Linked DNA regions of Homo sapiens: all the other regions are linked to region 2. Evidence: promoter capture Hi-C in human tissues and cell types (Jung and others, 2019). All regions are on one chromosome and are shown on one strand. Each heading gives the region's core, a stretch centred on a gene start or on the middle of the fragment in contact. The rest is flanking DNA. Distances are from core to core; before and after follow the strand shown. Region 1 overlaps ERGIC1 (endoplasmic reticulum-golgi intermediate compartment 1). Region 2 holds the start of SH3PXD2B (SH3 and PX domains 2B). Region 3 has its middle 35 kb from the start of DUSP1. Region 4 holds the start of LOC101928093 (a long non-coding RNA gene). Region 5 holds the start of ERGIC1 (endoplasmic reticulum-golgi intermediate compartment 1). Region 6 has its middle 20 kb from the start of ERGIC1.

The links. The method cuts DNA at HindIII sites, captures the fragments that hold promoters and counts their contacts. A contact is called where the count stands out against the background at its distance.
Region 1: a contact is called between a fragment that was not itself captured here and the fragment with the promoter of SH3PXD2B in region 2, in 1 of the 25 tissues and cell types used here (dorsolateral prefrontal cortex).
Region 3: a contact is called between a fragment that was not itself captured here and the fragment with the promoter of SH3PXD2B in region 2, in 3 of the 25 tissues and cell types used here (heart left ventricle, mesenchymal stem cells and neural progenitor cells).
Region 4: a fragment that was not itself captured here is called in contact with the fragment with the promoter of SH3PXD2B in region 2 in 1 of the 25 tissues and cell types used here (mesenchymal stem cells).
Region 5: a contact is called between the fragment with the promoter of ERGIC1 here and the fragment with the promoter of SH3PXD2B in region 2, in 3 of the 25 tissues and cell types used here (H1 embryonic stem cells, adrenal gland and mesenchymal stem cells).
Region 6: a contact is called between a fragment that was not itself captured here and the fragment with the promoter of SH3PXD2B in region 2, in 1 of the 25 tissues and cell types used here (mesendoderm cells).

What each region holds. Positions count from the first base shown.
Region 1 is chr5:172,899,103-172,902,381 of GRCh38, forward strand. All of the region lies in intron 3 of ERGIC1 (endoplasmic reticulum-golgi intermediate compartment 1), which reads left to right. Among named protein-coding and RNA genes, the nearest start is that of MIR10523, 14 kb to the right of the region's middle. RefSeq lists an enhancer at 2,634-3,144. The HindIII fragment of the contact is 4,655 bases long and covers 1-3,279 here.
Region 2 is chr5:172,453,074-172,456,012 of GRCh38, forward strand. SH3PXD2B (SH3 and PX domains 2B) reads right to left here and starts at 1,452. Exons shown (of 13, transcript NM_001017995.3): 1 at 1,205-1,452. The coding sequence starts at 1,279. RefSeq lists an enhancer at 418-939. The HindIII fragment of the contact is 19,152 bases long and covers 1-2,939 here.
Region 3 is chr5:172,734,959-172,738,289 of GRCh38, forward strand. No RefSeq gene overlaps it. Among named protein-coding and RNA genes, the nearest start is that of DUSP1, 35 kb to the right of the region's middle. The HindIII fragment of the contact is 6,850 bases long and covers 1-3,331 here.
Region 4 is chr5:172,754,771-172,757,700 of GRCh38, forward strand. It overlaps LOC101928093 (a long non-coding RNA gene), which reads left to right and starts at 733. Exons shown (of 4, transcript NR_161233.1): 1 at 733-929. The HindIII fragment of the contact is 3,300 bases long and covers 1-2,930 here.
Region 5 is chr5:172,832,410-172,835,609 of GRCh38, forward strand. ERGIC1 (endoplasmic reticulum-golgi intermediate compartment 1) reads left to right here and starts at 1,842. Exons shown (of 10, transcript NM_001031711.3): 1 at 1,842-2,024. The coding sequence starts at 2,005. RefSeq lists silencers at 1,695-2,094, 2,465-2,514, 2,525-2,604 and enhancers at 2,588-3,200, 3,075-3,200. The HindIII fragment of the contact is 25,389 bases long and covers 1-3,200 here.
Region 6 is chr5:172,812,137-172,815,483 of GRCh38, forward strand. No RefSeq gene overlaps it. Among named protein-coding and RNA genes, the nearest start is that of ERGIC1, 20 kb to the right of the region's middle. The HindIII fragment of the contact is 5,136 bases long and covers 1-3,347 here.

The DNA of each region.
Region 1 (3,279 bases), core at 20-2,519, 450 kb after region 2:
AGGCACCAGGCAGGTGGCTTTATGTGCTGTGGGCAGGACACCAGCAGGTGCAAAGGGCCTCAGGCAGGGATGACCTGGTGTATGTGAAGGCAGGAAGAAGGCCAATCAGCCAGGTCAAAGTGAGCAAGCGGAGAGGGTAGGAGGTAGAGCAGGCAGGACGGAGAGGGGCCAGGCCTTCTGAGCTGCCAGGTAGAATTGGGAGTTACTTCTTTTTTTTTTTTTTTTTTTTTTTGGAGACGGAGTCTCGCTCTGTCGTCCAGGCTGTAGTGCAGTGGCGTGATCTCGGCTCACTGCAAGCTCCGCCTCCCGAGTTCAAGAGATTCTTGTGCTTTGCCTCCTGAGTAACTGGAATTACAGGCAAGCACCACCATGTCCAGCTAATTTTTGTATTTTTAGTAGAGACAGCCTTTCACCATTTTGGTGAGGCTGGTCTCGAACTCCTGACCTCAAATGATCCACCCGCCTCAGCCTGTAATCCCAGGCTGGGATTACAGGCGTGAGCCACTGCGCCTAGCCTGGGACTCACTTCTTGATGATGAGCTCGTGGAGCCCAGGGCTGGACCTGCACACTCACTGCTCTGTGGCTCCACACATGGAGGAGCTGAAAACGCCAGTGGTAGACACAGTCAACAAGCAAACAAAACTAGACTGTATCGATCAGGGGCAAGTACTCCAAAGACAAGAACTAAAGCAGGGCAGGAGGTAGAAAATGAGATGGCTGCAGGTACATGATATTTTATGAGGATCAAACAAGATTATTTAGCTGAAAGCTAACTTAATATAGTGCGGCTATACTTTAATATCATAAGGTCCATATCTCTTCGTGCATTTATTCATTTCCTACATAGTCTGCATCTAACTCTAAAAAGGTTTTAAGGCCGCTCCGCACCAGGCATATAAGTACTCAGGGAATGTGAATTCCTTGTCCCCTCTTCCGCTTTGAGTTAAGAAGATGCCTCTCTTGCCTGCTGCTGACAGCGTGTGGGGTGGCATTCCCAGCTCATCCCACATGAGGTGGGGCACTGAGGCAATGGGCTGCCAACAAGTGAGTTTTGACGTCACAGCTTGAGGCTCGAGCAGGTGGGGCCCCACCCGCAGAATGCCCGGGAGCATTGGGGAAGGGCCCTTCCAGCAAGCCCAGACAACTCATGCAGCTTCCCAAGGGCAGGGCTGCTTCTTTCTGAAGAGCACAGTGTGTTCCCACTGCTCCCCATTCCCCCGTGCCAGGACTTCCTCTCCCTCTCTCCCAGCGGCATCCCGGACGCTCTGATCCCACCGAGTCCCTGGAGAGGTACAAAGCTTAGGGATGAGGGGAGGAAGGGGGCCAGGTGCAGTGGCTCACACCTGTAATCCCAGCACTTTGAAAAGCCAAGGCCAGAGGATCACTTAGCCCAGGAGTTCGAGACCAGCCTGGACAACACAGTGAGATCCTGTCTCTGCAAAAAAATTTTAAAAACATTAGTTAGCCGTGGACACACACACCTGTAGTCCCAGCTACTTGGGAGGCTGAGGTGGGAGGATCACTTGAGCTCAAGAGATCCAGGCTGCAGTGAGCCATGATTGCACCACGGCACTCCAGCCTGGGAGACAGAGCGAGACCCTATCTCAAAAAAAAAAAACAAAAAAAAACATGAGGACATTTTTTGAGCATTTGCCTTGAGTCCAACCCTGTGCTAAGTCAGCGGCTGGAGAGAGGGAGGGAGGCAGAGATGAATAGAGAGATCTGTCCGGAGCTGAGGCCAGATGCTCCAGCTATGAAGATGCAGTGACCCTAATGTCCCCTTCCCTCCTTACTAAGGTATAGGAGTTGCCCGAAGGGCCTCCGCAGGATGAGCCCTAAGACTTACAGAGCAATCGAGAGGAGAAAGCATCACATCTTTGGGGTCTTCCAGTTGTCAGAAGCTTGTGGCCCCCAGGAAGCCCTACAGGTTTGGGAACAACTGAAGGTCACAGTTCTCGTCTTCTGGGTGGCTGGCCCTCTGTGGCAGGTTTGTGGCCACAGTGGGGTCAGTGCCCCCTCCCGCCACCATGAGATTGTAACTTAAGGAAATGAGGTCACCGTTGGTTGGATCAACATGGCTCCAGCCCCAGCCTGTGGTTATCAGTGACATAAGACGCTTATTCTGGCCTGGGCCTGGTGGGGGGTGAGGGGGAGGCACATTTGTTTGGGTGGTTGGGCTCCAACCTGGCTTTGGACAGGCCGTTAATTATCCTTGGGAAAGAGGCCCCACAGAGTGTTCTGAAACTCCGTGTTTTCAGGGAGCAGGCCCCTCCTCAGGCAACCTGGCCACAGAATGTTCCAGCCTCTGACTGCCCAGTCTCTGACTGCTCTGAATAATTATTAACCTCATGAGGATTTATACTAATAAAATATAGTAACTGGAACTCTCCACTGATAGTTTATAATGTAATATAACTCATGGTACCTTCCATACTATAACTCATGGATTTATAGTGTGCATGCCAACACCTAGGTCAGCACTTTATTTTTATTTTTATTTTTTGTTTGTTTGTTTTTTGAAACAGGGCCTCATTCTGTTGCCCGGGCTGGAGGGCAGTGGCTCAATTATGGCTTAATGTAGCCTCGACCTCCAGGGCGATCCTTCTGCCTCAGCCTCCCGAGTGGCTGGGACTACAGGCATGAGCCACCATGCCTGGCTAATTTTTTAATTCTTTGTAGAGACAGGGGTCTCCCTGTATGTTACCCAGGCTGGTCTCAAACTTCTGGGCTCAAGCAATTCTCCCACCTTGGCCTCCCAAAGTGCTGGGATTATAGGCATGCAGGCTGCCCCCGGCAGGTCAGCACTTCATGATGGTCATCTCATTGGTCATCGCAGAACCCCTTGAGGCAACTACTACTGTTCACCCCATGTTACAGCTGGGGAAACTGAGGCACCAGGCGGCCAAAACCACATGAAGCACTAAGTGGTGTAACTGGAGTCAAACACGGGTCTGTGATGCTGAAGCCCAGGCTCAGCACCTCCCCTCTGTTGTACCCCACTTCCCTGGCCCCAGCATTTCAGGGCCCCAGGCTCATGGGAGCCACTGCTTTTTGATCAGAATAGTTGACTGGAGGACTTGGATGCACCCTTCTAGGGTGAGGTGGCCAAACAGGCAGATGGAAGCCTGGGAGGTGGGAGCTTGGAGGTCACCTGGAGGTCACGGTGTTCTCACAGGCTCCCCGTAGGAGGCCCGGAGTGGGGAGCAGTGGCTTAACCAGGAGGAGGAGCTGGAAGTCTCCAGGTTGCCTGCCTTGAGCCTGGGTTGTGAGCCAGGCTG
Region 2 (2,939 bases), core at 202-2,701:
GGCTATTCACGGAAGGCATGCAGATCTACTTTGTAAGAATTAGTTCTTAAAAAAAAAAGATCTGAAGACGACTTCCAGGGAGGCCAAGGAGCTTAATTTAGCCAGCCAACGCCCTTTTCTATTCATTGTTCTATACTTCTTTGTTAGGATTTTTTCCCTCCCTCTTACTCTTTTTCCCTTCCTGGTTAACTTCTCTGCAGCCAGGCTCCGCCACTGCCCACTTCTCACCGCCAGAGACACTATAGCCCCCTTCCCTGCTGTAATGAGGCCCTCCCCAAGGCCTCATGTGGGCCCATCACCCCACATCCCCTTTATCTCCACCTAGAACCTGCGAGGTGGTCCCAGGGCCTCCTGAATCTGCAGACGTGTCCCCTAGGTTGCTGCGGAAGCCACTTTCCACCTGCAGGTCACCGTCAGCCCCAGGCACCCCTGCTGGAGGGAGGGAAGCCCGAATGCAGCTCTATGTTCCAGGACCTGCAACCTCTGAGCCTCAGCCTTCCTATCTGCAAAACGACGCTACTGTCCCATTTTCTCAAGTCCTTGCCAGCTCCAAACAAGATTCCCATGTTCCAGAGGGAGATGCCAGGAGAAAACTTTCGTACATTTTAAAACAGAAGTTACTGGAGAGAGGGGGCAGGGGATGTTTTTAACCCTTTAAAGGCGTAGCCACTCAAATGATCCATTCCCAGAGATCTCCTCCATCGCCCAGGCCGGCTCTTGCCAAAGAACGGAGTCAAATTCGGCGAACCCTAGAGGGGCTACCTGTGGCTGGGGACTGCGGGTCTGCGCGCCTCTGGACAAGGAGGGGCAAGGCGGGCGGCCTGAGAACAGGCACTTCTGTCTCTCCCGCTTTCTGTCTCAGACCCCTCACCGGCTGGAGCCAGACTTTTCCACAGATGAGCAGGACGGGAGTTGGGGGGACACGGAGAAGACAGAAAGGGGTAGAGGAGCCGCAGGGAGGCGAGTAGGGGGGCGAGGCGGGAGGAAGGGATGGAGGGGGAGAACGAGGCAAAAGCGGGGAGGGGAGGGGAGGGAGGGAGGAGGAGTCGGGAGGGACCCGGGCAGCGCCGCCGCAGAGCCGAGGGGAGAGCAGGGGAGGAGGGGACGGGAAGCGCTGGAGGCAGAAGTTTTCCAAGCCGGGGGCCCTCGGTCGCCCCCGACGGGGCGCGGGCTCAAGGGGGCGTGGGGGCCGCGCCGCACTCACATAATGCTTGTTGGGCACCCGCCGCTTCTGCACGTCTAGCACCTTCACCTCCACGATGCTGCGCCGCGGCGGCATGGCCGCTCCTCCGCCCGCAGCGGGCCGAGCGCGGGTGCGGGTGGCGCGGGGTGCAGGGAGCGCTGGGGGCGCGCCGCCGCGGGCAGGGAACCTGGAGCTGAGCGCAATCGCAGCCGGGGCCGAGCACGAGCCGCCGCCGCCACCGCCGCCGCCCTTCGCTCGGCGCGCACTCCAGCCGGGCCCAGCCGCCGCCGCCCGCCCCCGGCCCGCCCCCCGCACCGCCCCCCGCACCGCCCCCCGCACCGCCCCCCGCGCCGCCGGCCCGCCCCCCTTAAAGGGCCCGGCCCCGACCCCCGCCCACCGCGCGCGAACCCCGCCGGCCACGTCCGGCCCCCGCCCGGCCTTTGTCCCGGTGCTGAGCCGCCGCGCCGGGGGAGGGGACTGGACTGACCCCGTCGCCCGTTCACTGATTGACGTATCGATTCATTCCAGCACTCTCGCTCCGGCAGCCGCCATCCACCGCCAGTTTGGAGAGCCGGACACCCGGGTTCGAATCCCGGCTTTGCCGCTTTTCCACTCTGTGCCCTCGGCAAGTTGCTTAACCTCTCTGGGTTGGGTCTCTTCGTCTATAATATGAGCCTAGTAGTACAAGCACCATGTTTGTCTTTTTGTGTCTGGCTTATTTCACTCGGCATAATGTCCTCAAGGCTCATCCATGTTGTAGCACGTGTCAGTAGTACCGCCTGCCTGCCGGTGCTGCGCCCGGGATTAAGTGCATGTGAAGCCATTCCGCAGTGCAGTCCATGGTATGAGTGCTGGCGTTCCTAAAGCCACCCCAAGCCCTGGTGATTCAGGAGGAGCAAGAGACCCGTGACCAGGTTCCCCCAGCCTCAGTCTGGGACATGGGGAGTGAGGGAGAGAAAAACTGCAACAAATGCGCATACGTGCAATGTAATTGCCATGGAAGCAACAAAAGGGGATAAAAGGGTGGTGACTATGTGTGAGGGGCAGCTGGGTGCTTGTTAGCAAGGCCATCGATTTCCAGTTGCGGAGCACTTAACTGCTCGCTGGGCCCCGTGGCCCCTGCTTTTCACAAATGCTGTCTTTGCATCCTCAGGCAGACTCTAGGAGGAAAAGGTGTTTTTACAGAGGACGGCCTCCAGACATTTGGACATTTCCAATGAGGCCTGAGGACCCTCTGACTTGGGAACTGTACTTCAGAAGAATGTGCCTTACAGGAATTACATCAGTGAAGGTCCAGAGTCAGGGAGCCGGTGGATGGAGCCCGTCACTGCCTGGCTCTAGGTGGATCTCACACGTTGAAGCTGCCGTGGCTGGGGCAGCTCCTCGTTTCTTCATCTAGTGCCTCCTAGCACTGGCTGGGCACTGAGTCACTTTCAGGAGATGTTGGCTGAATGAATGGATAAATGAATATATAATGCATGGATGGGAGGTTTAGGCTCCTGGCCAGTGTTTTCACAGCCAGTAAGTGGGGGCTCTTTTCAACAAACCGTACGACTCTTCTCCATGCCACGACAGAGCTACTTCCCACCCCGGTCCAGGATCAGCCTTTGGAAAAGGGTGGGCTTATCCAGGGTAGGACGGCTCTCAGCCTCGGCCAGGCCACGTGGATGATTTGGGCTGATTCACTTTGGATCCGCCCCTCCATTTGCTCCTCTGACTTCCTTGCCAGACTTTACCATCCTGCTCCAGCCCCAGA
Region 3 (3,331 bases), core at 262-2,761, 280 kb after region 2:
TATGCTGTGCCTGTGTATGTATGTGTAAGTGTGTGTTTGTGTGTATATCTATGTGTATTTGTGTATGTATGTGTGTGTGCATGTGTGTGTGTGTTTGTGTGTATGGGGGCCAGTTGGGGAGACCAGGGAAGGCCTCTCTGAGCAGGTGAATTTGGGCAGAGACCTGGGGGAGATGCTGGCACTGTGGGGCAGGTGCCCAGGCTCTGCGGGCACCTGGGAGGGAGGCCTGCAGGGTAAAGCAAAGAGAGTGAAGGCAGGGAGGGGGTGGCAGGGCCTGAGCAGCTAGGGCTTGGTGTACCAGCCAGGCATTGGAGGTGTCCCCCAAGCGTGTTGGGGAGGTGGGACTCTCAGAGCCATATTTTCAAAGGACCCCTCTGGCTGCCTTGTGGCCAAGGATGGAAGCCCAGCAGGGACTTGAGGCCAGGCGAGAGACAACTGGGCAGTCCTGAGGGGTGGGCCCTGGAGGGGTGGGCGGCAGCCGAGCCAGCATATATTTTGGAGGAAGAGCTGCGAGGCAGGCCTAGGTGGGAGGGAGATAAAGTCATCAACACAGCTCCAGGGTTTGGGCTGATCCACTTGCAGGAAGGGATGGAGGCCGTGGTGGGGAAGGTGGGAACAGAGCAGGGTCACAGAGGCAAACCCCAGAGATGGGCAGGGTTCCAGCCCACAGGGAGCCTTGGGAGCCCTGCAGGCAACCAACGAACCCCCTCTGGACTGCTCTGAGGACAGCGGAGGAGCCATCGAAGGCTTGCAGGCAGGAGAGTTCCAGAACAATTCTGGTGTGACCTCCTCGCAAAAGCCTCTTGGTGCACGTGGCCTCTCCCCTGCACAAGTCATAAAGTCACTTCATCTGGTGATCTTGACTCAGTTTCCCCAATAATTTGTTGCATTCTAAAAGCTTTTGCTCTGTGCCAGGCACTGGACTAACTCCTATACCAGCGCTCATGCATGAATGATGAGGCAGAGACTATTTATCCCTCCACTATTTCACAGAGGCAAAGACAGACACAGAGAGGGACAGCCACTTGCCCAACGGCACACAGCTGAGAAGCTGGGATTCAGACCCAGGCAGTCTGGCTCTCGAGTCTGTGTGTCCAACCACTCCACTCCACCCCCTGGCTCCCCACACACATACCTGCATGCACACACACACACACACACACACACACACACACACACACGCATAAACATACACACATGTGTGCATCTGCACATGAGGCGTGGAGAGCCTGTGCTGGAGGATGCTGTCCCGGCCGGCCTGGTTTTATGTGCAGGGCCCCCTCTGTGTTTATTCATTCACTAGATAAATATTTCTATGGGAGGGCCAGACTGGGGCTGCTGGGAAGCCGAGATGAGGAGCCCGTGTTTCCTGCCTGCACAGGGATAGGGAGAGGTGGGGACCCGGGGCGGTGAAGTCCATCAGGCAGGTTGCGCGGTGCCTGGAGAGAGGGAAGCCCCACACAGGGCCAGGGGCGGGCAGGAGCAGGGACAGGAGAGCATGGGGAGTCACCCCAGCCCTGTGTGACCATGGGCAAGTCACCTCTGCTCCCAGCCTCAGATTCCACCTTGCTGTCATGGGGACAGGGACGCCTACCTCCTAGAGCTGTCATGAAGGTTCTGCAGGAAGAGTCACAGCACCAACCCTCTCATGGTTGTTCTTTCTTTCCTACTGTGGCGAAAAATGGTGACTGTTACGCTGCCACTCCATGGAGAGAAGCAGGACTTCTGTTTCACAGACTGGGTTTAACATTCCCAGGGCCTTTTTTTTTTCTCTCTCTCTGAGAAGTTCCTTTGCTCAGCAAGGCTGTCGGGGGCACTGGTAAAGGTTGGGTGCTGGGTCTTGGCTCCTTAGCACCCCACTTCCCACCCCCCACCCCCCACCCCCAGTGACTCTGGCAGCGGATGTGGGGACACCGAGCCACAGGGATTCTCAGCTGTCGCTCGACACAGCGGATCCAGGGCCCTTATTTAGAGCCTTGGCTCAGGGGGCTGGGGGAGACGCTCTCTGTCCCAACAGTAATTCCCTTGCTCTCCCCACCTCCTCACCCTCCTAGGGGTGGGGCTCAAGAACTCAGACTCCCCAGCCTTGGGCCTGGGCTCAGAACCTTTCCTGGGCCCTTCCAGAAACCCTCCCTGCCACCGGCTGACCAGTGGCCTGGACTCCTGCATTTAGTGGCTGCTGCAGAGTGAGTTAGTGACCTGGAGAGAAGGAAATAGAGGCTCCCTCTGGAAGGGAGGTGTGTTATGAAAGTGTTTCCCTCTGCTGGGACACCCAGACCCCTACCAGTATCATTGGACTTGAACACCACGTTAGACAACATGTGTCTTCATACGAATACACATAACATAGCAGACAGCCTAGAAGGAAGACTAGAAGGAAAGATGGCAACATGTTGATATTCCTGTCTCTGGGTGGTGTGAGGTTATGAGTGGTCTTTATTTACATGTCTTTTTTTTTCTGTATTTGCTAAATTTTCTCCATTGAAAATGTACTACTATTAAAATCACAAGAAAAAAGTACCTTTTAAAAAGGATCTATTGTATATTTTCCATTTTGTTAAATGGAAGCATAAGATATAAAATATCTCACTTCTGGACACAAAAATATACGTGTAACATTGAAAAGTTAAAATTGTAAGATTACATATAACCCACATGAGAACAGAACATATGTCAAACCTGCGACTACAGTAACGTGTATGTGTATTTGTAGATTCTGAATAAGAAAATTTTATGTGAGAGAGAATGGAAGTACTATGCCCTGTAGGGTCCCCCACTACCACACAAAGAGAGGGCTCCCATTTATTTATGTCTGACTGTCGTGCTAGGCTACGAGGCAATTGAGGGTCAAGGGAAACTTTTACTTCTCTCTGTGTCCTAATGAGGACTTGACACTCAATAAACATTTGTAGATGAACAAGCAAATATCTGCTTTAAAAATAAATGGGCTGCGCACGGTGGCTTATGGCTATAATCCAGCACTTTGGGAGGCCGAGGTGGGCAGATCACTTGAAGTCAGGAGTTCAAGACCAGCCTGGGCAACATGGTGAAACCCCATTTCTACTAAAAATACAAAAATTGCCGGGCATGGTGGTGTGCGCCTGTAATCCCAACTACTTGGGAGGCTGAGGCAGGAGAATCGCTTGAACCTGGGAGGTGGAGGTGACAGTGAGCTGAGATGGCGCCACTGCACTCCAGCCTGGGTGACAGACTGAGACTCCATTTCAAAAATAAATAAATAAATAAATAAACACATTAAAACTCTACAAACAAAAAGCATACCAGGAAGTGGTGTATGAATGTGTCTGGTAAGTCAGTAAAACACAGAGGG
Region 4 (2,930 bases), core at 232-2,731, 300 kb after region 2:
CATGGGGCTGGAGCAGGAGGCCCAGGTGGATCCTGTGCACACAGGGCTCATGTCAGAGCTGAGATATACTGAGCTTAGGAAACTCCTAATCTTATAAGCATAAGAGGCTGCTAACGAACCCGGTCAACATTCAACCTGGAGAAAGGCATTATCTTTATAATCCTGGTCAGGAAATAAATCTGTCCTCTGCTCCAGAGTGAGACACTATTCCTGCTCCCCCAGGCTATTTGTCATATAAACATCCTGAAAAGATGGTTCCACGCAAAAGGTGTCACAAGAGGTATAAGAATGCCATGGAGAATTGCCCCTCAACAGTCCTAAGGGAAGGAGACTCCCTCTGTCTTTCTGCTCTGCCGTCATTCCCGACATCACTTCATGGCTAAAAATGGCTGCCTCAGCTCCAGCCATCACTCTGTATTCCAGACCACAGGAAGGACAAAACAGGGAAGAAATGTATCAGCCCTCTCTTTAAGGACACTCCCTGGAAGTTGCACACACATTAGGTTTGACATTCAAACAGCTATGTCTGGCTGTAAGAGAGGCTGGGGAATGTGGACATATACCTGGCCAAAAGCCTATTACTAAGGAAGACTAGAGCCTGGGGAACAACCAGCCTTTCTGCTCTACATAGTCAGTGTCACAGTGGTCTGTGAATCTCTACATAGTCAGCATCACAATGGTCTGTCACAATGGTCTGTAAGTGGTCTATCAAGTGCTGAGGACACAGGACACATGAACCTTTATTCTAGGAGTCCTTGGGGGAGCTTCTCATTTAGTGCCATCCTTGGTACTTCCTACTTTCCCCAACCTTAAAGGGGATGTTAGGCCCCTGAGTGAGGGTGGGATTCACCCTTGTCTTGCCTGGTACAGTGGAAGGCCCTGCCAGGCTTAGGTCTTGGACCACACACTGTGTTAAACCTGAGCTGTGGGTAAGTCCTCTCCTTCTCCAGGCCTCAGCTACTCCCTCCAGGTGACATGGTGTATTAGTTTGTTTTGCATTGCTATAAAGGGATACCCAAGACTGGGTAATTTATAAAGAAAAGAGGTTTATTTGGCCCACAGCTCTGCAGGCTGTACAGGCAGCATGGTGCCAGCATCTGCTCAGCTTCTGGTGAGTCCTCTGGAAGCTTCTAGTCATGGTGGAAGCTAAAGGAAGGAGCCTGTGTATCAAATGGTGAGAGGGTACAAGAGGGAGAGGGAGGAAGGGCCAGGCTCTTTTAAATAGCCAGATCTCGGCAGGTGCAGTGGCTCATACCTATAATCCCAGCACTTAAGGAGGCCAAGGCAGGCAGATCACTTGGGGTCAGGAGTTCAAGACCAGCCTGGCCAACATGGTGAAATCCCGTCGGTACTAAATATACAAAAATTAGCCTGGCATGGTGGCAGTTGCCTATAATCCCAGCTACTGGAGAGGCTGAGGCAGGAGAATTGCTAGAACCCAGGAGGCAGAGATTGCAGTGAGCCGAGATCATGCCACTGCACTCCAGCCTGGGCAATAGAGTGAGACTCCATCTTAAAAAATATATAAATAAATAAATAAACAGCCAGATCACACGTGAACTCGTAGTCAGAACTCACTTGGCTGGGCACAGTGGCTCATGCCTGTAATCCCAGCACTTTGGGAGGCCGAGGCAGGCGGATCACTTGAGGTTAGGAGTTCAAGACCAGCTTGGCCAACATGGTGAAACCCTGTCTCTACTAAAAATACAAAAATTAGCCCGATGTGGTGGTGGGTGCCTGTAATCCCAGCTACTCAGGAGGCTGGGGCAGGAGAATCACTTGAACCCAGTAGGCGGAGTTTGCAGTGAGCCGAGATCAAGCCATTGCACTGTCCAGCCTGGGTGACAGAGCGAGACTCTGTCTCAAAAAAAAAAAAAAGAACTCACTCATTACCCCGAGGACAGCACCAAGCCATTCATGAGGGACGAACCCACCCCCATGGCCCAAACACCTCCCACTAGTCCCCACCTCCAATACTGGAGGTCACATTTCAAGGTGAGATTTGGAGGGGACAAAACATCCAAACTCTATCAATGGTTTGCTAAACGTGGCAATAATAATAAGCCCACCAAGCAGGCTAGATGGATGTACTAAATCAGTCACATATGTAAAGCAAATACTGGGTGAGACCTGTCTCAAAAAATAAAGCAGATAAGTAGGAATCTGAAGCCCAGAGAGGTGATGTAACTTGCTGAGAGTCACACAGCAAGGAAATGCTACACTTGGGGCTAGAACACAAAGCTGCTGCCTGAAGTCTTTGGCTATGGCTCAGAAAGTCTTAAGTCATTGATGATGATGAGGACACGACGAAGGAGAGTGGCCAGTGAAACCTACAACAGACCCTTCCTCTGGCTCATGGTGAAGGGAGAACAGCCTAAACTGCTCATCCGATGATGACATTGAGGGAAGCTGGGGCCAGCGGACAGGCTAGTGCTTTCCAGTCCTTCTTCCCGGCTGGTCATTTCCTTGGCTTCAGAGCAGCCCGGTGCCCACACTCTGAAACACCCACCGCAGGGGACACGGGGCTCTGATCCTTTTTGCGTAAAATAGCAGCATAAGGGCAGGGACCCTCATGAGGGCTCTTGGGAATTCAGTTCTAGGGAAGAAGGTTGGGCCTGGAACAAGTCCTGAGGCCTTTATTCCTCTTATAAAATCTATGGAACAGCAATAAATTGGCATCAGGTCATCCCTCGACACTTGAGATGGGAGTCCTTCCTGTGCCACGTGCTCAGCCTTCTAGGGCTCAAGGGTCACCTCTTCCAGGAAGCCTTCCTGTATTGTTCTCTCCTCTGCCCACTCTTCCCTGCATTTCTCCACCCCCTTGCTCTGCCCGCACCTCACCTACAGCCCCCAGATCACTGTGGCAAAATCATGGGCCAATGCATCAGTCTCCACCACTTGCCAGGAGAGCCTGAGGTCAGAAACCGTGT
Region 5 (3,200 bases), core at 592-3,091, 380 kb after region 2:
CTCAGGTGATCCGCCCACCTCGGCCTCCCAAAGTGCTGCAATTACAGGTGTGAGCCACTGTGCCCGGCAGGAACTTAGGCTCTTTTTGTCTTGTTGCTCTGCTCTGTGGTGGCCTCCACCTTATGGTCCAGGATGGTGACGCCTACATTCCTGGCAGCCAGATGGAGAAAGGGACACAGAGGGTAAAGCAGACATACCAACTATCCCAGATGCCCCACAAGACACTTCCCTTTACTTCTCAATGCCACATCTAGCTACAAAGGAAGCTGGGGAAATGCAACTTTCACTGTGAGCACCCACATGCCCAGCCAAAAGTTGGGAGCTCTATCCCCACTCGAAAAGAGCAATGATAGTCAACCCTGTCTTGCATTTACTCTGTGCCAGGCATTTGCTGACCTTGGATATCATCCCAAATGCACACTTGATTCAGTAGGTCTGGCCTGGGGACAAGAGTCTGTCCTGTGATGGCCATGTGGCTGGTCTGTGGACCACAGTTTGAGGAGGGAGGATTCGAGGTCAAAGATCCATCATTGCATGTTTCCTCCCACACAGGGCCAACGAATGGCTGTTTGGAAGCAGTGGCTGCTCAAGATCCCTTAACTCTCCCTGCTGTCCCTAGGTTTCCAGTTCAGGCTGAGATTTCCTTTTCTCCCCCAACAGTGTCAGACCACTGACACTGAATGAATGAATGAATGAATGAGTGAATGAATGAAAAGGGAACGCAGAGGTCAGGTCCCGGCATATGCTCTAGGGGAAGGCTTTGGTTCACCACGTCACCCTACCCCAGACCCCGTGCTAGTGTTGTCCCTTCTGAATCCTCCCGGAGGAACCAGCACTGCTGTTCCCCTCTATTTACACAGGGGGAAACTGTCCATTGACTCTGCTTTTGGAACCCGAGCCCTCACCATTCTCCCCTGGGTTTTTTGAAGCCCTGTCCCACCACAACCTTGGAGAAAGGGCCAGTGACAGAACCTCGGGGAAGTTCAGAGTGAGTTTCCCCTACTCAGGTCTTGTGTGACCTCAACTACCATCTCCTCTAATCCAGCAGTCACGGAGGCAGCTGCTCTGTATTCCTGAGGAGGAAACTGAGGCTCTAAGAAGGAGACAATCGGCACAGTCCACGTTGGCCAAGTCACAGTGCAGGTCCCATCTGCCTCTGCCACAACCCTGCATGTTCTCGATGGACCTGGTTCAGAGCAGATGCTCTGTGAATGCCCACTGGAGTGAACGACAGGGGCAGATGGAAGCAGGGACAGCCACTGCCAGCCTCAATAGTTTCAGGTGCCTGGCACTGTGCTAAGCCAGTCTCCTGTTTCTCAGCTGATCCCCAGGAAAACCCCCTCAAGTAGGTGTCATCGTCCTCTTTGTGCAGATATGCAAAAGGGGCGGGGCGGGGGGGGGGCGCTCTGAGAAGCCCAGTGGCTTTCCCAGAGAGACACGGCAGGGGCAGAGGTGAGTCCACCTTAACAGCCTAGGATGGCCGACCTCTTCCCTTCCCCCACAGTATTAGGCCCTCACTCAGAGCTAGACGCTGTGCACGGCCAAAGTCTGTATCACCCCGCCCCCCGCCCCCAACTCAATCACAGTTCAGTGAAACTGTTTACAAATGCAAAAAACTGGGCTCGGAGAAGCAGAGAATTTGTCCGAGGGCATCCAAAGAGATGGAGAAGGAAATCTAAGTGGGAGGCTTGAAGGAATGAGTACTGGAGTCTTTGGGGGACTCCCTTCCCTTCCGACAGCCTCGACTCTCCGCCCCTTCCCTGCCTGCCCGCGGGCCCCTTTAACCGGGTGGCGGAAGGGGCGGCCGGGCGGGCGGCGCCCAATGGGCTGCGCGGAGCGTCACTTCCCGGCAGCGGGAGGCGAGTGGCGAGTGGCGAGTGGCGAGTGTCAGGGGGGCGGCCGGCGGGGGCGGGGCGGCCGGAGGAGGCGTTGGCAGCGGGCTCGGACCCACGCGGCGCCGCGGCCCGCCTGGCCTGCAGCGCTCCCACCCCCGGCGGCGGCACGATGCCCTTTGACTTCAGGAGGTGAGTGTGGCGACCCCGGCCAGTCGGGAGTTCCCTCAGCGGGCAGAGGGAGCGCCCCGGCACGCCGCGGACCCCTCCCGCCCTGCATGCAAAAGCGGCTCCCCGCCCTGTGCATGCCTCCGCAGGCCCCTAGGGACCCCAGGCGAGCCCCCCCCCTGCCGCACACGAAGCCAGCCAGAGCCGCGGAGGCCCCCTCGTGCAGCGGGAGACAAATCCACCCACCTTCCCTCCGCCGAGCCCCCTCCCCAGCCTGCCCGGATACCTTGCATTCCCCTCCCCCACACTAGGAAACATTTCCTCCCTCCTCCCAGATGGGAACAGCCCATAACACCCCAGCATCCCTCTCCTCCCTCTACTGAGCCTCCTTGGTGGACCCCACCTCAGCTGACAGGTGGGGCAGGGCACCTGGAATGAGTCCGGAGGGGCCTGGGGCCCCATGCAGCCTGCCGGCAGCTGGAGGGTTTTAAGTTTCTATAGCCTGAGGCTCCCCCAGGCCGGGCAGATCGGGAGGCCTGCCCCCGCCCCTCCCTCCCTCAGCCCCAGCCCTGTCCGCTGGGTATGGGGGCACCATGGGAAGGGGAGGAGGCGCCTTGGGCAGGACTCTGCAGAAGGGCCACCGGGGTCTGGCCTTGGCTTTCTGCAGTCACCACAATGGGTCCTTTGTGGGGTCCAGCTGCCTCATGGTCTAGGTTGCATGGGGCATTCTGGAAGCCTGCGGGGGAAGAGATCTCCACCAGAGGTTCCCTTGAGGTGTGGAGCCCCAGGGGATGTCCTGGCCTGAGGCAGCCACACTTGGTGTCTGGCTGGGAAAAGAGCAGGGCTTTAATGCAGGGAGGAGCTGGATTAGAATCCTGGCTCTGCCCTTTCTACTGAACAGCTCGGTATATTCTAGAAGTTAGGGGCAAAGGCTCTGGGTTCAGAACTCCCTGTCGCCGCTCGGCTGGCTGACCTCAGCAAGTCTCCGAGCGCCCTCAGTTTCACCACCTGCAAATTGGGGCTAAAAATAAGGTCTCCGCTTGTGACGACTGAGTGCGTGAAACACCCTTAGCAGAGTCTGGCATGATTTAGAGCTCAGAAATAGGGCATTAGTGGATGGGGGGTGTTCTCCAGGAGGGGTTTTCCACATCCACAAAATAGTGATTCAGATGCCTGTGCCACAGGAGGTATTTCTTCCCC
Region 6 (3,347 bases), core at 535-3,034, 360 kb after region 2:
GGCAGGAGAATGGCGTGAACCCGGGAGGTGGAGCTTGCAGTGAGCTGAGACTGTGCCACTGCACTCCAGCCCAGGCAACAGCAAGACTCTGTCTCAAAAAAAAAAAAAAAAAAATTAGCCGGGCACGGTAGCAGCAGCCTCTTAAACCAGCTAGTTGGGAGGCTGAGACAGGAGAATCACTTGAACCAAGGGGGCGGAGGTTGCAGTGAGCAAGATCATGCCACTGCACTCCAGCCTGGGTGACAGAGTGAGACTCCGTCTCAAAAAAAAATGAAAAAGAAAATAGAACACTCACATCTTATGACCCAGCAATTCCAACTCTAATTACATAACTAGAAAAACCTCTTGTACATGTGCATCAGGGTATATGTACAAGAATGGTCATAGCTGTCGTTTATTAAAAATTCTGGAACCAGCTGGGCGTGGTGGCTCAAGCCTGTAATCCCAGCACTTTGGGAGGCTGAGGCGGGCAGATCACTTGAGGTCAGGAGTTTGAGACCAGCCTGGCCAACATGGTGAAACCCTGTCTCTACTAAAAACACAAAAATCAGCCTGGCATGGTGGTGCGTGTCTGTAGTTCCACCTACTTGGGAGGCTGAGGCAGGAGAATCACTTGAACCTGGGAGGCAGAAGTTGTGGTGAGCCGAGATTGTGCTATCGCACTCCAGCCTGGGTGACAGAATGAGACTTCATCTCAAAAAAATAAATAAAATTCTGGGACCATTTTACATACATTAGGATGGCTATGATAAAAAAAAAATTTTAAATAAAAATGCCAGAAAATAACAGGTGTTGGTGAGCATGTGGGGAAATTAGAATGCTTGTGCACTACTGGTGGGAAATGTAGCATGGTGCAGAGACTGTGGAAAACACACTGTGGATCCTCAAAAAATTACACATAGAATTACCATATGATCCAGAAATTCCACTTTTGAGAATACACCCAAAATAACTGAAAGCAGGGGTCTGGGGCGGTGGCTTAAGCCTGTAGTCCCAGAACTTTGGGAGGCCAAGTGTCTCACGCGTCCGTGTGACGAGACCACCAAACAGGCTTTGTGTGAGCAATAAAGCTTTTTAATCACCTGGGTGCAGGCAGGCTGAGTCCAAAAAGAGAGTCAGCAAGGGGTGGTGGGATTATCATTCGTTCTTACAGGTTTTGGGATAGGAGGTGGAGTTAGGAGAAATGTTTTGCGGGCAGTGGGTGGATCTCACAAAGTACATTCTCAAGGGTGGGGAGAATTACAAAGAACCTTCTTAAGGGTGGGGGAGAAACAAATCACAATGGTGGAATGTCATCAGTTAAGGCTATTTTCACTTCTTTTGTGGATCTTCAGTTACTTCAGGCCATCTGGATGTATACGTGCAGGTCACAGGGGATATGATGGCTTAGCTTGGGCTCAGAGGCCTGACACCGAGGCAGGTAGATCACTTGAGGCCAGTAGTTCGAGACCAGCCTGGCCTGAACATGGCGAAACCCCGTCTCTACTAAAAATGCAAAAATTAGCCGGGTGTGGTCGTACACACCTGTAATCCCAGCTACTTGGGAGACTGAGGCAAGAGAATCGCTTGAACTCTCTTGAGGCAGAGGTTGCAGTGAACTGAGATTGTGCCACTGCACTCCAGCCTGAGCAACAGAGCGGGAATGTTAAAAAAAAAAAAAAATTGAAAGCAGAAACTCAAACAGATATTTTATACTGATGGTCATAGCAGCATTCTTCACAATAGCTAAAAAAGGTGGAAGCAACCCAAATGTCCATCAATGGATAAATAAACAAAATATGGTATATACATATAATAGAATATCTTTCAGCCTCAAAAGGAAGGAAATTCTGACATATGCAACAACATGGATGAACCTTGAGGACGTTATGCTAAGTGAAACAAGCTAGACTCACAAAAAGACAAATACTGTATCATTCCACTTATATGAGGTCCCTAAAGTTGTCAAATTCATAGAGACAGAAGGTAGAATGCTGGTTGCCAAAGGCTGAGGGGAGAGAGGAATGGAGAGTTATGGCTTAATGGGTGCGGAGTTTTAGTTTGGGAAGATGAAAAATTCTGGAGATGGATGGTGGCAATGGTTGTACAACAATGTGAATGTACTTAATACCACTGAACTATACACTTAAAAATGGCTAAAATGAGGCTGGGGGTGGTGGCTCACACCTGTAATCCTGGCATTTGGAAGACCGAGGCAGGTGGATCACTTGAGGTCTGGAGTTCAAGACCAGCCTGGCCAACATGGAGAAATCCCATCTCTACTAAAAATACCAAAATTAGCCGAGCATGGTGGCAGGCGCCTGTAGTCCCAGCTACTCGGGAGGCTGAGGCAGGAGAATGGCATGAACCTGGGAGGCAGAGGTTGCAGTGAGCTGAGGTTTTGCCCCTGCATTCCAGTCTGGGAGACAAGAGTGAAACTGTCTCCAAAAAAAAAAAAAAAAAGAAAGAAAGAAAGCAATGGCTAAAAAGGTAAATGTTTATATATATAGACAGAGTATAGACATATATACACATGTATACAACATATACACATGTATATGCTGTATGTACATGTGTATATCATAATAGAAAAATACCAGTAATCATTTAGCTTAATAAAATGTTTTAAAGATAAAAAAAAAATTCCTGGAAACCACCCACATGTATATCAGCAGGAGCATAGATAAATACAGTATATTCATACGGTGTATTATTGTACAGCAATGACAATGAATGATCTAAACCTGCACCATCAACACGGGTGAATCTCACAAACACAATACATGAAAAGGGCAAATTACAAAATAATACAATCCAATTATATATAAAGGTAAAAAACATTACATCATTTTGGGACTCTATCTATCTATCTATCTATCTATCGTAAAACTATATAAAGAAAAGCAAAGGGGCCAGGCGTGGTGACTCACACCTGTAATCTCAGCACTTTGGGAGGCCGAGGTGGGAGGATTGCTTGAGTTCAGGAGTGTGAGACCAGCCTGGGAAACATGGTGAAACTCTGTCTCTACAACAAATAAAAAATTAGCCAGGCATGGTGGCGCATGCCTGTAGTCCCAGCTACTCAGGAGGCTGAGGCAGGAGAATTGCTTGAGCTCAGGAGGTCGAGGCTGCAGTGAGCCGTGATTATGCCACTGCACTCCAGCCAAGGCAACAGAGCAAGACCTTGTCTAAAAAAAAAAAAAAAAAAAAAGAACGATTTGCACAAATTCAAGACGGTGGCTACTCAGGGTGGGTAGAAAGAGGCACATGATCAGAGTGGGGCATGAGAGGGCTTCTTGGATATTGATGATGATCTATTTCTTAAGCTGGGTGATGGATACATGGGTATTCATTCTACATTTGTTCTT